2 separate regions of the Homo sapiens genome follow, and region 2 is linked to region 1. The links are contacts of gene promoters, found by promoter capture Hi-C in blood cells and fetal thymus (Javierre and others, 2016). All regions are on one chromosome and are shown on one strand. The core of a region is centred on a gene start or on the middle of the fragment in contact, and the rest is flanking DNA. Distances in the headings are between cores, read along the strand shown. Region 1 holds the start of MORC1-AS1 (MORC1 antisense RNA 1). Region 2 overlaps LOC105374039 (a long non-coding RNA gene).

Region 1 (5,411 bases), core at 2,153-4,652:
AAAGAACAGGCCATTTATTTTTATTTTTATTTTATTTTTTTGAGACAGGGTCTCACTATGTTGCTCAGGCTGGCCTCAAACTACTGGGCTCAAGTGATCCTCCCTCTTCAGCCTCCTGAGTAGCTGGGACTACAGATGCACTCCACCGTGCCCAGCTAGAACTTGTTAATATTGTTGTTAAGAGGTTGTCTCTGTGGAAGTAGAAATGGGAAGTGGTTGCTGTTTTTAGTTTTTTTTAAAAAAGGGAATGGCCCATTTTAAGAAAGCTATAATTAAGGGTTAGCCCAATTTTCCATGCCCTTTACACACATAACATGCAACATAAATGCTTACAGCATCACTTTTCCTCAGGTCAGGCTCCCACACGGCTTACTCCTTTTTACCTGCAGACTGCTCCTGTCACCCAGCTCCACCCACTGGCAGTCTCACAGTCCTACACCGTCCATCCAAACTCCATATGCATCTCCAGGTCTGAGACTTGCTGAGGCCATTAATCTCCAGTACCAGCTTTTCCGGCTGCAAGTTGTACTCTCTCCATAAAACCCTCATTGGGCACTCGAGGCCCTCTATCTCTCCATCCATATCATTGCTTTTGATAATCTGGTAACAGTAGCCACACAGACTCATTGAGGAGCATTCTTTTTAAATACCCTCACTTTTTTATCCAATTCATATGTGTCTACCTTATTTTGTGATAAAGCTGAAGACTCTTAGATGGCCATATGACCTTCTGCTTCTTTTCTACCTTCATAGAGTCTATCCAGTACTAGGCAGAGAGTAGTTCCTCAACATGTATTTGTTATATTGAATTATAACTGACAGCCATAATAATAAAACTCAGGCACTGGTAATTAATAAAATGCCTCTGGATCAGCAAATGGAGTTGAAATTATGGTCACCAGAGTTACAGTTTTAAGTCTATTTTGCATTAATTTCTTTACATTTTGTATTCCAAGTCTTTGACTCCAATATTTTATTTATTTTTAAAATGATAATCAATTTATGGCATATATGGTGGAAAGATTTTGCAGGTTTCTTCTAAAAAGCTCATCATGTCTAAGGGAGCCTCTTACTTTGGGAGATTTGAGCACATGGATAATGAAAATGAAGTTCTCAGGAAAGGGTCAAGAGGACAGGTCTTTGATGTCCCCAGAATGTCTTGATACCTTCTCTCCATTTCCCAAACATATTCCTAAGTTTCTAAATAATATCAGAAAGAACCCATGACAAGACTTCACCTCCTGAGAGAGTAAATGAAAGCAACATCATTGCTATGGGAACAGAAGGAAAACTTCAACTCTTACCTCACTAAGACTTTCTTCTTCACAGAATGTCTGAGAAAAAAACACACAGGTCATCGTTTCTTCCTTCTTCGTAAAAAGAATAAAGTCTTTTCCAATTCTCATGGACCCACTATATTAAAAATGAAGAACATCATGTTTTACACCTCAAATACTAAAAAGGAAGAAACAGGCAGACTGTTATCACCGTGTACTGTAACAGGATGTTCTTTCCAACACTCTGTTCTGCTGACCCGTCATCAAGAGGGTACAATTTTTTTTTTTTCAAAGTAAAGCAGAAGAATTTGAACTAAGCCAGCTCCACACTCTTGCTTGAGGTTTGGCTGCAGGGGAAAGGGTCCATTCAGGGCTCAAAAGAACAATCATCTGTCTCAGGTAGGAGCCGTACAAGTGAGCCTCATGTCCTGACCTTTCAATGCAGCATACTAAAACAAAGAGCTGCAGACACAGCACCTAGGTTAAAATATGCTTTGGGAAACAACAGAACATAGAGATGCAACAAAGCACTAAAGTACAGGGGTACCGCTTCAGGAATCTTTGAAAGAGGATTTATTTTATTATTTGGGAGAATTAACCTAAAATGTTGTAAAGATAAAAGTCAGTTATGGGCCGGGCGTGGTGGCTCATGCCTGTAATTCCAGTACTTTGGGAGGCCGAGGCGGGCTGATTACTTGAGGTCAGGAGTTCGAGACTAGCCTGGCCAACATGGTGAAACTCTGTCTCTACAAAAATACAAAAATTAGCTGAGCATGGTGGCTCATGCCTGTAATCCCAGCTGCCCAGGAGGCTGAGGCAGGAGAATCACTTGAACCCAGGAGGCGGAGGTTGCAGTGAGCCAAGATCGCACCACTGCACTCCAGCCAGGGTGACAGAGTGAGAATCTGTCTCAAAAAAAAAAAGTCAGTTTTGTATATGGAGATTCCAACACAAAGTAGGTCACCCCTGCCTCAAGTTTATATATTTTTTAAAGCTTTACATGCCTGCATCATTCTGTGTAAATTGCTTTATAAACAGTGTTCCCAGTATCAATAATATATGTCTTAAGGGAAAAAAAATTCTCACCTTTTAAGACCATTGCCGTATTGCCCTATGAACTTCAAGGTTGACAGCCGTTTTTTGGATCGTCCAAAGTAAATGATGTCTGAAGCTTCCTCTGTAATTGACAGTGACTTTTAAGGTGGTTAGGAAGACTCTTTGACACTGGCCTGAGGCCCAGCTGTCAGGACCTCACATTCCTCAGAACATCAGGACAAACCCATAGCTCTTGGGTCAGCCCAGAGACAAGGATTTTCATCAGAATCCACAGTCTCTGACAAGGGTCTTAATGGTATTACAGTCAGCCCAAGGTACGGCAGGCTCCACATTCATAGACTCAACTAATCTTGGACTGAAAATATTCAGAAAAAAATAAATTGCGTCTGGACTGACCACGTACAGACTTTTTTTTTGTCATTATTCTCTAAACAACAAAGTATAACAACTATTTAATAGCATTTACACTGCATTGGGTATTATAAGGAACCTGGAAAAGATTTAAAGTATACAGGAGGATATATATAGGTTATACGGAAATACCGTGCCATCTTCTTTCCACAGCTTTTGGTATCCTAGAAAGGTCCTGGAATCCATTCCCTACAGATACTAAGAAACAACTGTATACTGAAAGAGATGAGACAGACCTAACCATGTGGCCTTAGGTAGAGTTTAAAAGTCTGAGCCTTAATTTCCATGTGGTGTAAGAGGCAACTACGTAATACTTATATCACGGTGTTGCTGATGAAGATAAATGAAACAAATGAAATGAGATGATGTATTTGTGAAATCCTGAACACAAAACTTGGCACTTGGTGGGTGTTACCAAATTACAAGTGTTATAATTACTTGTACCACTAGTAATTTCCCCACGAATTTAGCCCTTAACCAGGCCCATGTGAGACTAAGAGGGGCAGGATGACCTCTGCTCTGATACTACCTGGGAAAGAAGGCTAACCATTTCAGACGTTCCAAATCATTCTCCCGACCTCTCCAGGTATTCTGGAATTCTAGACAGTAATCCTCTGGACTTCAGAATATATTAATACCAATCTCCAGAACCAAGAATGTTCTTCTTGTTGGCCTACCTGAATACATGCTGAAGAATTGTCCTGAGGACCCTCTGTCAGTCTGGGTACAGATATGCTATAGTTCAGTGGCACATGGTATGAGGTGTGTAAAAGCCACCAAACATTCTGCTTCTCTGAAACTAACTGGACCTCCTATGATATGTTCCTATGAGGGGTTAGGCATTAGGTAAGGATATCCATAATGACAATCTTAGCTAACACTTATTGATTGTTTAGTATATGCTAGGTACTATGTTTATACTTACATGCACAGCTTATTTAATATTTATAACAAAACAAGAAAGGTATTATTACTATGACCTGCATGTCACAGATGAGCAAATGTAAGTCTAAGGAGTTTTAAAAACCTGCCCAAGGTCACAGAGCTGATAGAGGGTACAGCTAGGATTATAACCCAAAGTTCTAAGTCTTGGTACAGACATGGTATAGCTCTGAACCAAATCCCATGTGTTCATTACACACTACATGAACTCACGTGCATGGTTACCCGGTTCTGAGCATGGGAATAAACCACTGAACAGGCCAGGCATGGCTCCTGCCTTGGACAACACTATGTCATGGTAGGAGAAACAGATTGAAAGTAAACTAATAAATAAGATCATTTCTGACTGAGTATTAAGTGAAGAAAACAAAACCAGGGTAATGCGATAGAGAATTAACAGGAACGTGGCCTGCAGACAGAATGATCAGGGAAGGCCACTGGCAGATGGTTAACATGAGATGGATTCAAACGATGAGGGGTCAGCCATGTGTGGGTGGAGTGTTCTAAGGGAGGAAGTGGGAAGAACAAGAAAAGGCCAAAGAGGTGCATAGGGCCAAATAATGTAAGGTCTTGGAAGAGATGCTGAGAGTACAAATTGTATTAAGTAATGGAAAACCACTGAGGGTTTTCAGCAGGAAAATGATATTAATGTACATTTTCAGCAGGAAAATGTACATTAAAAGAAAGAAAATCACTCAGGATGCTGTGTGGGGAATGGACTATAAAGGGGCAAGACTAGAGAATTTTTTAAAAACCCGGAAAGTACTGTAGTCATTTTCTATGGGTCAAGATTGATCTAGCTCCGTTTGAACAACGGATAGATTCTACTTTTAGTCATCTTCCTTCTACTTTATTACTAGTTGATGCTACTATGTAACTGAAGTGTGAGTTCCTTCTGAAGGTCTGAATATCCGTCACTTGTCTGTGTTTCAAACATTTTGTTCATGACCCATATAAAAAGAGTTGCTTCTTTTCATAAGGAATTCCCTTAGAATATATCACATATATTCTGTCATTTATTTTAGGAATTCAAAAAAATGAACTTAATATTCAGGCTAGAAGTGAAAAATTACTTTTTTCAGCATGGGTTTTTTCTGTTGTTGTTACAAACTCTTCTTTCTCATTTAAACAATAAAAGACCAAGAATACTTTTAATCAAAATGACCTGGAAAAATCAAAATTATCCGAAGTCAGAACAAAACTGGGTGAAACAGTCTTTCTAAACTTGCTAATACTCTTCAACTATTCAGACCAAGGGGAAACTTCAGAGCTGAAATAAGATATTTGCCATACCTCATATCTTCAGCTTCTATCAGCAAATCAATATTTGAGCATACTGATGCATCCTTTCCTCAGTTGTGGAACTGACCATGGCAGTTCCATATTACTGAACTCTCACCATTTTTTAAATCTAGTGGTCAAAAACCCTGGCTTGTGGAACACACCATGTTTAAAGAATTCAGAAATACAATACCTAAAACAACCCAATGCCCTCAGATGGAATCACATTTCAATTTCACAGCACACAGACACTGTATACCCATAATGTGCTGGCTTTGTGCTAACCTTGAATACACAAAGATAAGTCATGAAATATATTGTAGATGTATTCTTTATGATGGGAACATTCATTTGAAGCAAGTAAAGCTTTCAAAATGCAGAGGAAAAAACAAGGCTAAAAACAAGGAGAGGAAACCTCTACCTCGAGGTTAAGCAAAATTAAAA
Region 2 (5,656 bases), core at 2,266-4,765, 2.4 Mb after region 1:
TTTAGACACTTTATTTCCTGTTTTGTTCTCTTAATTTCCCTGGTTTGGTTTCAATGTAGACTCAGGTCTGGTCAATAGATAATGTAGATACCGTATCACTGGCTTCTGAGAGTAATTGTTTTAATGAGGCATCTGACAGGCTCCTGTTGGTCCCCAGGAAGCACAGCAGAAGGGATTGTGTTTATAATCGACTCTAATCCGTTCTAATCTTTCACTTTAACCTCACCAAGAATTAAGTGATTGATTTTTGGTCTCTTGAAAGAAAATAAAGACCTCCTGAGACAAAACTTGGCAGCTGTCCAAAGACAAAGAAACAATTGAGGGCTGGCACCATTTGTACTTGGATATGGGGAACTGTCTTGGTCTAAGTAGGTCATTTCCCTCCCACCAGTTCTTGGTTCCTATTTGAGCACTCGCATTGTCCTGGGTCAGGAAAGTTAGACAGAATTTCACAATAATTTATCTACCTCAGCGTCAGACACCTGTAAGACAAAATATGGCAAATATGGCTAGGCCAGGTTATTCCTTGGCATTCTGCTTCCTCTAAGACGTATCTCACTCCCTTGACCTAAAGTCCAAAGGCTGTAGTTCCCAGATTACTGCTGTCAGACAGCAGGAACTACCCTTTTTCTCACTCCACTCAGAAAGACATGTTAGTTCCCCTCTAAAAAAGTTTATTTTCCCTATAAGTTGGTGTTGGCTGGAACAACAATGTGCTGTTGGGGTAAGAAGTAGCTGACTACTAAATTGGATGTTATTCACACAAGTGCTCATCTTTTAACCTACTAGTGAAATTGGGGCTGAAATGATAAACTAATGAAAATAGAGAACAATACGTAAGCATTGAGGGAAAGCTGACCTCCTCCTTCCTTACCTCTCTTGTCCCCTCCAAACTTCCTATTCTCACCATTCCTCAGCCACTTTTTTAGTTTCTATTTTTCCATATAGTTCAAATATGCAGTGCCAGAGGAGTGGTGTGCACAGAGACTGAACTTCAAGTCAGAAGGCAGAGGGAGAGGATTCTTTGGAGAACAAAAAAAGAGAATGAGAGATAGCAAGAGGGGGAAGCAATTAAGTATATTTGACAATAGACCCCATTGTCAGCATATTTAATTGTCTTCACGCATCTTTTTGTACCTAGGCACCTCAGCCTCCTAACATCACCACCTGGCCAAGTTGCAGCCTCCTATCCAGCATTCTCCTATCTTGCTCCCTAACACCAGGTACTGTTGATTTCAGTCCAAAGTCAGCCCTTCATCTTCAGTCACACTTTCACCTATGCTCAGAAATATTTTTTTTTTGCCTCCTGTCACCATCCTCCCACTAACTAGTCCAAAATTCCCTGTTCCACTTTCCTTAGGGCTCCTTCCTCACTGATTTTCACAAATAACCCATCTTCCCTTCTATTTATACATAAGGTTGGAGGTTCAAGTCAGAACTTCAACTTTCTTACTCTCCACATCTCAATTTTACCATAATTTCTCTGATAACCACCCTGCTATAGAGCAAAAACTTCCCTATTCAGTCTGCGTACCCCATCAGTGCTCTATTGCACTCTCTTAATCTCCCAAATACTTCCCTGTGAGTTTTTTCCTGTTTCTTGAATTATTAGTCTCTTCCTCTTCACTCTCTGCTTCCTACAACCTAATATAAATTTCGTCTTATGAAAAAAGTCTCATCCCAATAATACTTAACTGCTTCCCCCTCTTGCTATCTTTCATCCTCTTTTTTTTTCTCCAAAGAATCCTCTCCCTCTTTGCCTTCTGACTTAAAGTTTAGCCTCTGTGCACACCACTACCCTGGCACTGCATATTTGAACTTACTAGTGATAAATGAAGTTGGGAGTGTAGACAGAGAATAAAAGAAGAAAGAAAACAGGACTGCTGAAAGGTTAAGATTGCAAGAGTAGAAGATGGAATCACCTACGAAGAAGATGGGAAAAGGCTAGCCACAGAAGCGTGTATGGAGTTAGGAATGGGGGCAAGAGAGCACAGCCCTGGACTTACCCTGAAAGCCAGACCAAGGTCCACAGAAGCCCCACTTTCTGAGCAAAGGGTGTCAGGAGAGGAAAGAGCTAACCTCCATTCCAGCCAGGTGGGCTTTACCCAATAGGTCTGTGGTTGCATTGCTGGGACAGAGAGGTGAAGACCAGTGCAGCAGGTGTGAGGCTGGCCTTTGTCCTGCAAGACACTGCTGGATAGAGGGGACAGTCAGCTGCTAATGCCAGGGGGACCAGCAATCCTGGAAGGAGCTAATAGGAGATGAAGGAATCTTCTGGTTAAGAGATGTGGTGCCCCCTCACCTCTCTCTTCCTACCCATCCATCCACAACTTCTAGCCCCAGGAACTTTAATTTTTAACAAAGCATTACTAATATCTAGGTTTTGTACTGATTTGATTGCCTCCTGTTTTCTCGGCATCCATGTCAGAAGTGTCTTTGAAATTTAAATTAATGAAAAATATTGGGTTTTTTTCAACCTATCAGCAAACATTAGGACTTTTATTATCAAACTTACATTTATAAGAAGAGTAGCCAGACCAAGGCTCAAGTATAATTTAAACGGAAAAAAAAGTGCTTTATTGTTTTGTCACACTGAAGCCTTGAGCCACACAGATCAAGTTTATGTCAGAAAATTATTAAAGGACCAAGTCTACAACATGTGGATTTGGGGAGCATATGTCATATTTGATGTGGGAAAGAGGAATATCCCACAATTGGATATAAAGGATACGTCAAAGGCAAGTGTATTTCATAACAACATAAGAGGAAATGAGAGGGAAAATCAGTGCAGAAAGAATCTTTGAAACTTAACCAAAAGAAAACAGCTCCTCACTCAGATAGACAATACGGTCCCTGAGTAAATGTCATCTGTAAGAATATTTATCTTTGTGTTCCCACTTTCTTTGATGATATCATTATTCTAGGCAAAGATCATTCCTGTCCGGCCCGCAAACATCAGCAGCACATAAACACTAACTTGCTTAGGGAACTCCACTGGCAGCAGAGCCCAGGGAAATTGTGTCATCCATTTAAGATGTCTCATACCACAGACACACTGTTATCCCAGGCCATTGCTGGCTTCCTTGAAAGCAATAAGCAGACAATACAAGAAGCTGGCAGGAAATCCAGTATCTAAAACCCAATATGAGATTGTGGGCCCAATCTAATAAGAATAGATTCATCTGGCTTTATTCCCATTTTGTCACTTGCTTTGTGGGGAAAGTAAAACACGATAAAGCAGAGCATTATGGCAACCTCTGAGTGCATATTGACTCCTCATTCCCTGAACTTTTATGCTGAACATCTTGAATCATGCAAATTAGTGGGGACTCAGTTTCTTAGCTGTACCTTTCTTTCTATTACAGTGGAAGCTTAAGAGACTTTCTCAAGCTTAGCTTAAAAGATTCCAATATTGAATGTTCTGAGGCTTCTTTAAATTCACAAGTGAATTTGATGAAAATTTAGACATTCATCTGATGTATGTTAAAGAGTCTAGAGTCGTCATCACCCCAGGAAGCAACTGGGGCAGATGCATTGGCTAACTTTCCTATGACTTCTATGGGATCTATGCTTTTAATAAAACTTAAATTTGATTTGAACAAAATTGATAAGGGGTCAAAAGGACAGAGAATCTGAAGTTGAAGCTTCTTCTTGTTTAGTAAGGGGTTTTGTTTCTTTTAAGCAGATGGATTTATTAAGATTTTTATAGCATTTCTGTGCTCAAACCAGTAGATCTGTGTATTGGGTAGCTGTTTACTTTAGACTTTTATGTAAGCCCTAGCAAGATCTTCTCATTAATCCAATCACAGCAGCAGGCTGTGATTAATTTACTGCAGCATTGATTTTTTAAGGAGCATTGAAAAGACCTCCTTAGTTCAGGGAGAAAAAATGCATTAAGGGATTACAGACTACATCTGCCAAAACTAAGATATTTATTCATATAATTTATTATAATTTTCTGTTTTACATGGCCTATCATTTTCTATATATTTCATGGAAATCTTATATTTTATAACTTAATGGCAGGCCAAGTCATTTGGTGATGACTATTAAACTCGTATTGAATCAATGAACTAGGAGGCCATTTTCATTTATGTAATCTTTAGCAGTTTACCATTTTACTAATGAGGAAATGCAAGCCCAGAAAATTAAATGACCTATCTATCCAACATCACTGAGTTGGAGGAGAGCTATATCTAGAAACTGCCTTCCTTCCCTTGACTCCTCTCTCTTGCTTCTTACTTTTCTTAGCATTATTGTGACTTTGTTAGCTGTGCTATGGGCCAGACACTACACCAGAAACTTTCACATATGTAATCCCTTTGAATTTTCACAGCAATCTTGAAGGAAGGCATTGTCATTACCATAATTTTATATGTAAGGAAACTAAAGCTGAAAGAATTTAAGTTACTTGACCAAGGTCATTCAACTAAAAGCTGGGTAAATCCTAGATACTAAGCTAAAGTTTGTTTCCACCCAAATTCTAAGCTCCTAATTGTACCCCATACATAACATTGCTTAGAAAGATGACATTGCAGTGTTCTGCCACTTTTGCCATTTCCCCAACTTCTTCCTTAGGGCAAAAGGTGACTTTCTAAATTGTTCATGATGTGAGCTCAAATCTTTGCCTGAAAATCACTTTCTTTGACCACCTTTTGTTCCATATATCACTGACTGTCTTAGGGGTCCAAAACAGAGCTGGGAACTTTGGTTAATGATGGATGGCACTAACCAGTATACAGATCACTCTTCTTCAGCTCTTTTGAATCTGTACAGTTGATACGGGGAAAGAAAAATAAGTTCACATTTGTTTTCATCAAGGAAAGAATTAGGCAATTCATATAAAATAACATTTTGGCCAAAAGTTGTTGTTATCATTAGAAAAACAAAAAGGACTATGCATTTTATGCTAAGAATAGCTTGTTTTGCACCTGGCTTACTTGGATGCCAGGCACTTTACATGTCATCAGTCTTCACACATACCCATTTAAGAGATGCTAGAACACAGAGGCTTAGAGAGATTTAGCATTGCTGCAGGAAGTCAGGGACCCCAAACAGAGGGATCGGCTGGAGCCACGGCAGAGGAACATAAATCATGAAGATTTCAGGGAGAGTTATCAGTTCCCTAATAATACTTTTATAATTTCTTATGCCTGTCTTACTTTGATGTCTTAATCCTGTTATCTTTGTAAGCTGAGGATGTATGTCACCTCAGGAACACTATGATAATTGTGTTAACTGTACAAATTCATGGTAAAATATGTGTGTTTGAACAATATGAAATTAGTGCACCTTGAAAAGGAACAGAATAACACTGATTTTTAGGAAACAGGGGAAGACAACCATAAGGTCTGACTGCCTGCAGGGTCGGGCAAAAAGAGCCACATTTTTCTTCTTGCAGAGAGCCTATAAACAGACATGCAAGTAGGGAAGATATCGCTAAATTCTTTTCCTAGCAAGGAATATTGATATTAATACTCTGGGAAAGGAATTCATTCCTGGAGGAAGGTCTATAAATGGCTGCTCTGGGAATGTCTACCCTATGTGGTTGAGATAAGGACTAAGATAAGCTCTGGTCTCCTGCAGTACCCTCAGGCTTACTAGGATTGGGAAATTCCATCCTGGTAAATTTTTGGTCAGACTGGTTCTCTGCTCT

The links. Contacts are between HindIII fragments. The CHiCAGO score rates a contact against its expected background, and 5 or more counts as called.
Region 2: a contact is called between a fragment that was not itself captured here and the fragment with the promoter of MORC1-AS1 in region 1, in 1 of 17 cell types (total B cells). The highest score is 6.7, in total B cells.

What each region holds. Positions count from the first base shown.
Region 1 is chr3:109,098,054-109,103,464 of GRCh38, forward strand. It overlaps MORC1-AS1 (MORC1 antisense RNA 1), which reads left to right and starts at 3,403. Exons shown (of 3, transcript NR_144461.1): 1 at 3,403-3,506. It overlaps MORC1 (MORC family CW-type zinc finger 1), which reads right to left. Exons shown (of 28, transcript NM_014429.4): 5 at 2,364-2,454; 6 at 1,305-1,413. The HindIII fragment of the contact is 2,885 bases long and covers 2,447-5,331 here.
Region 2 is chr3:111,519,116-111,524,771 of GRCh38, forward strand. All of the region lies in intron 2 of LOC105374039 (a long non-coding RNA gene), which reads left to right. Among named protein-coding and RNA genes, the nearest start is that of CD96, 20 kb to the right of the region's middle. The HindIII fragment of the contact is 254 bases long and covers 3,389-3,642 here.